Regions from separate parts of the Homo sapiens genome. Here region 1 is linked to region 2. Evidence: promoter capture Hi-C in human tissues and cell types (Jung and others, 2019). All regions are on one chromosome and are shown on one strand. The core of a region is centred on a gene start or on the middle of the fragment in contact, and the rest is flanking DNA. Distances in the headings are between cores, read along the strand shown.

What was found. The method cuts DNA at HindIII sites, captures the fragments that hold promoters and counts their contacts. A contact is called where the count stands out against the background at its distance.
Region 1: a contact is called between a fragment that was not itself captured here and the fragment with the promoter of CEP70 in region 2, in 1 of the 25 tissues and cell types used here (bladder).

What each region holds. Positions count from the first base shown.
Region 1 is chr3:139,304,531-139,307,230 of GRCh38, reverse strand. No RefSeq gene overlaps it. Among named protein-coding and RNA genes, the nearest start is that of MRPS22, 38 kb to the left of the region's middle. The HindIII fragment of the contact is 4,198 bases long and covers 1-2,700 here.
Region 2 is chr3:138,592,897-138,595,596 of GRCh38, reverse strand. CEP70 (centrosomal protein 70) reads left to right here and starts at 1,337. Exons shown (of 18, transcript NM_024491.4): 1 at 1,337-1,399. RefSeq lists an enhancer at 1,073-1,132. The HindIII fragment of the contact is 13,008 bases long and covers 1-2,700 here.

The DNA of each region.
Region 1 (2,700 bases), core at 170-2,669, 710 kb before region 2:
GGCACACAGGTAAACAGGCCATGGCACCACCATATTCCAGGGCTGTTACAGGGGGCTGTAGAGTCCTGAGGAGCCTGAGGGTTCTTGGAGGGCTTCCTGGAGGAGGTGAGGGACTAGATAAAAATAGCAGGATGGGCACTCCGGGTATGAGAAGGGGCTCAGGCAAAAACCCAAGGCCACCAGGGAGAAGCTATGTTCAGAGAAGGGCAGTTCATAGAGTGGGACTCGGCCATGGGGAACATCTAAAGGAGTCAAATGCCAGCCTTGCTGCCCTAGCAAGTCAGCACCAACTTACAGGTAACAATGCTGCTGTAATTTGCATTAAAAACACCTTTCCCCTGGAGTAGGAAGCTGTTTCAGGATTTTCCCATGCTGCCCAAATGCATTGGCCATGCTACTGACCCCCATCTCGCCCCTGGCCCCCTCCCCTGCTGGTTTCCAGTACTTTCAGAGGCTGCTACAGCCCAAGAGAAAGATGTGCTCTGGGATAACTCCTCACTGCTGTCTGTGGGCCACCGCCTCATACCCTGCCAGTACCTAGGCCCTGGCCTGGAACAGGATTTCTAAGGCCACAGTCTTGATTTCATTTGTCCTGGGTAGATGCAGGGGCTTGGCCAGTTGTGAGACCCTATACAATGATCAGTTCTTAGAGAGATTTGTCACCTAGAAAAGCCAGATAACACCCTGAGCAGCCAGTTCCCAGGGACATGGCCCTGGCCCAGGTTTTCCCCCTGGAGTGCCCCCTCCCTTCATTCTTCCCCATTTTTCATCCTTCCTTTCAGCTGGCTAACTCTAGCCCTTCCAGACCAAGCTGACATGTCACCTCTCCCAAGAAGACTTTCTGAGCCCCCATCCCCAGTACCCCAGGGGAGTCAGACACACTTTCTCTGTGCTCCCCTCTATGGCCCTTATCAAGCAACACAGTCACTGTCTGTTTACTTAGTGATCTCCCCAGAGATCCCGACAGCTCTTCCTGTGGCCCGGACTCCCCACAGAGCCTATGCACCAGCTATTTATTGCTGCCTAACAAATTATCCCAGAACCTAGTGACTCAAATCTACAATAGTTATATTTTACCTCCAAGGTTTCCAGAGGTCAGGAATTTAGCACAGATGGGACACTTTGTCCACAATGTCTGGGCCTGAGCTAGGGTCTGGGACCATCTGAAGGATCATTCACAATGTGTGGTGGTTGATGCTGCCTATTGACTGCAGGACTACCTGGGCCTCTCCATGTGACCTGAGCTTCCTCCCAGCATGGCATCTGGGTTCCAAGAGCAAGCATCCCAAAAGAGAGTGTGGGGTTGTGGGGAGAAAGAGAGAGAGAGGGAAACAACTGGAATCTGTATCCTTTTTATGACCTAAAATCAGAAGTCATATAATAGCACTTCTACCATATTCTATTGGCCAAAGCAGTCATACACACCCATCCAGATTCAAGGGGAGTAAATGCAGGTCCCCCTAGGTGGAAGGAGTGTCCGTCACCCTGCAAGAAAGGCATATGGGGTGAGATAAACATAGGGCATGGCTATCTTTGGAAAAAATAATATGTCACAATCTGTTACCAATAGATGCTCAACGAAGGGCTGTTGAGTGAATGAATGAATGAATGATCCTTTCTCTGCACTATCCATCTCCCCTCTGTCCTCAGACAGTTCTTCTCAGTTCAGAATCCAACTAACTCTGACAATCCCAAGCGCCAGGTCATAGCCCCTCTTTCTGTTTTGGAAGCCAAGGGGCCATGAACTCCCTCCCAGCTCCAAAGTTGTCAGAATTGTCCCCAGAGTTTCAGGGTGTTCACTGTGGTTTTCAGAAACAGGGCAATAATGTCGAGAATTAGAGAGGCCACCAGAGCAGAACCGGGAGGCAGTTTCCTTGCTGATCCACAGACACAGTTTTAGGAGGAAGATCTAAGGAATTAAACATTAGGGGAAAGCTTCTTTTAAAGGTTTTCAAGATTTAAATAACTGTCTTCAGCTATTTTTTTTTAGGAGAAAAAGAACTACTTGTACTATCTGATAATATTTTTCGAGCTCTAATTTTGGTTTTTTTTTTTTTTTTTTTTTTTTTTTGAGATGGAGTCTCACTCTGTCGCCCAGGCTGGAGCGCAGTGGCGCGATCTCGGCTCACTGCAAGCTCCGCCTCCCAGGTTCACGCCATTCTCCTGCCTCAGCCTCCTGAGTAGCTGGGACTACAGGCGCCCGCCACCACGCCTGGCTAATTTTTTGTATTTTTAGTAGAGATGGGGTTTCACCGTGTTAGCCAGGATGGTCTCGATCTCCTGACCTCATGATCCGCCTGCCTCGGCCTCCCAAAGTGCTGGGATTACAGGCACGAGCCACCGCGCCGGGCCCTGAGTTCTAATTTTTTAGTAACTATTATTTGCTTTCACAGTTTTTCTAATTAATAAGAGAATGCATTGAGACTTTACAAAGAGCCAGACTCTGTGCTAAGTGCTTTAGAGACGCTATTTCTGTAATGGGTCAAAAACTACTGATGTATCAGCATTCAGAGGCTTCCTCCACTTGCCATATTCGAATGCAAATCAGCTCATCAATGGGGAGAGAACAGAAAAACCCTTCAGTGAGTGAGGGTTTTTTGGAGTAGGTACAGGATATGGGAGAAGTGAGGTGAGGAGGAGAGCATCTTTCAGAATCATTGTGGTGGTTACGCAAGAGATCTCCTGTAATGTTATTCAAGA
Region 2 (2,700 bases), core at 88-2,587:
TTTTAGATGAAAAAGAAAGTATGTGGTCCTGATTTCTCCAAGTAGACATCTGGAAAATCACGTTAGTATGAATTTGAAGTCTACCCTTTTTTTTTTTTACAACAAAGCAGAGACTAATAGCAACTGGGTCCTTGTTAACTTGCTTAGCCACTGAATTAATCAAAGTCTCCCTTGCCTCTGAGCTTTCTGTTATGCGAGATAAGCAACTTCTTTATTTTTTAGGAAGACAGTTTAACTCAGATTCTATATCACGTGCATCCAAAATAATAATAACTGACTCAAAGATGTTTGGCCTCTACAATTAGGGCAGCCATTCTCAGAAGAGTATGCAAGGGCACCCTATTATCTTGGAAAAGGGAAGCACTGAGACTATTTGCATTTTGAGAACTGAAAATGCAATCTGCTAACCGTCGTTAGAGTGAATATCCAGGTATGGAAAGCACAGTGGGTAGGCGTAGGTTGGGGTAGGGACATGTTTGCATGGGGCAAACACAGAGATCAAACCTAAGTGTAGTCCCAGCTGCCTGGAAGAAGGCTAAGAAGGGTCTGAAAGTATTGAGCTCCAAGAGCCCTTGGATCTCCTGATGAGAGACCCTTGGCTGATGCCCTAGATGGGACATCCCTGTTGGCTACTGTGGGACCTGCATCATTTGACTGCAACACAGTCTGTTGCAACATTTGACTGTAACACAGACCTACATCATTTGACTGATTTGAAAAGACAAGTTGTCAACAGCGACACCATGTGGCTATAAGATACAATGACAATGGTGGACAGCTACAGCCTCAGGTAGGGCCTGACGCTTCGTCGAGATGTGGAAAATGCTGAATGGGAAGATGAACTGTCGTCAACAAATATTTATTGGGGTCCTCCAAATGTCAGCTGCTACAGTGGTCATTCAGGTCTGGAACATCGAGAACATGCTGACCCGTACCCCAGCAAGGGCTCGTAGTCGCGGCGGGGTAGGGGGCGAGAGAGAGGGCAGTCTCTGGTGGCCAGGTAACCCAGGCTTCACTTTCACCCACGGCCACAAGTATTTCTGACGTCTTCCGGGCAAATAAGCCTCCATGTAAGTGACAGGGCACCCAAGGAGTGCGTTGGAAGCGCCAGCGTGCCCGAGACCAGCACATCGCACCGACGCCTTCGTTTGCGGTAAGCCCCGCCCCCCGTAGTGAGCCAACCGGAGGGAGCGGGGCGGACCCAGCTTCCCGGAGAGGCTGGAGAGAATCGTTTGGGGGCATTCGCAGGCCAAAGAGGGGCTGGCCCTCGACGCGCTCGGGCTCGATTGGCCGCCCTCCCCCGGCGGTGGTAACGGTCGCGGAGGCGGGGCCTGACGTAGCTGATCCCAGCCTAACCTGGCCCGGCTGGCTGCTGGTGGGAGGCCGGCGACTGAGTAAGGTGAGTGGCTCTCGGGGCTCTCAGAGGCGTCGGCGTGAGCCCCTTCCCGGAGTACCCCGGACTTGACCTCACCTGGGCCTAAAAGTGGTCAGACTGACCCTTGTCGGGGAGGAGCCATCTGGGACAGGGTCGCGCCAATTAAAAATCCCTGCGTAAGGGTTTGGGGATCGGACAAAACTGCCTCCAGTCCCAGCTCCCCAGGCTTTGTGTTCTTTGGCTTCTCCTTTAATGTCTCAGCGCCTCCGATTCTTTATTTGTATACTAAAGCTGGTAATTCTTGCCTTACAAGGTGGTTGTGAGGGTTAAATGAGGCAGTAAGAGTAAAGCTTAGAATCACGTCGGGCACAGACTCGATTTAAGCTGTAGGTAATTACTCCATCCCCCAAAATCGACCCGGGCTGAAGCGCTAGTTTTGTGTCAAACAACCGCGAAGGTTGTTTGGGGAGTGAGGACTCGGAGCAGAAGGGGGCGGTTAGGCGAATAGCACAGGTGAGTATCTCTTTCTCCAGTTTATTAACCTCATTCCGGATTCAGGAGACCTCTGACTTTATACAGGGCCTAATAGGAGTTTTTCAAGGTGAAAAATGCCAGAAGGCTAAGTCACCTGTAACAGAGAGACCAATCAGAGTTTCCTTTTTTACTGCCACTTTGTTTTTCAATCAATGATATTAAACAGGCAGGGCGCAGTGGCTTACGCCTGTAATCTCAGCACTTTGGGAGGCCGAGGTGGGCGGATCCCCTGAGGTCAGGAGTTCGAGACCACCCTGGCCAACATGATGAAACCACGTCTCTACTAAAAATACAAAAATTAGCTGGGCATGGTGGTGTGCGCCTGTAATCCCAGCTACTCGGGCGGGTGAGGCAGCAGAATCGCTTGAACTCGGGAGGCGGAGGTTGCTGTGAGCCGAGATCGCGCCACTGCACTCCAGCCTGGGTGACGGAGCGAGACTCTGTCTCAAAAATATATGTATAATATATTAAACTCTGTGCAGGCATTACCCATATTGGTTTCAAGCCTCTGCATGAGTTTTGTACTTTAAATATTGCCAAGTAGACTCTGGCCTCCCCTGCCCCGCCTTTTGGGGAAGAGGTGGCTGACTTGGAGTTTTCCCTACAGCTTTTGCTTCAAAGCAAGGTTCTGCCCCTTCATGTCACCTCTCCTGAGACAGAATGATTTGGTTGAGATGACATTCCATTTTAACTCTTTCCTATTTGGGGTAAGTTCAGCTCTTTCTTAGGAACATTAAACAGCAAGTTGCAATATTTTTAGAATAGAGCTTTTGCATTTAATAAGGAATAGA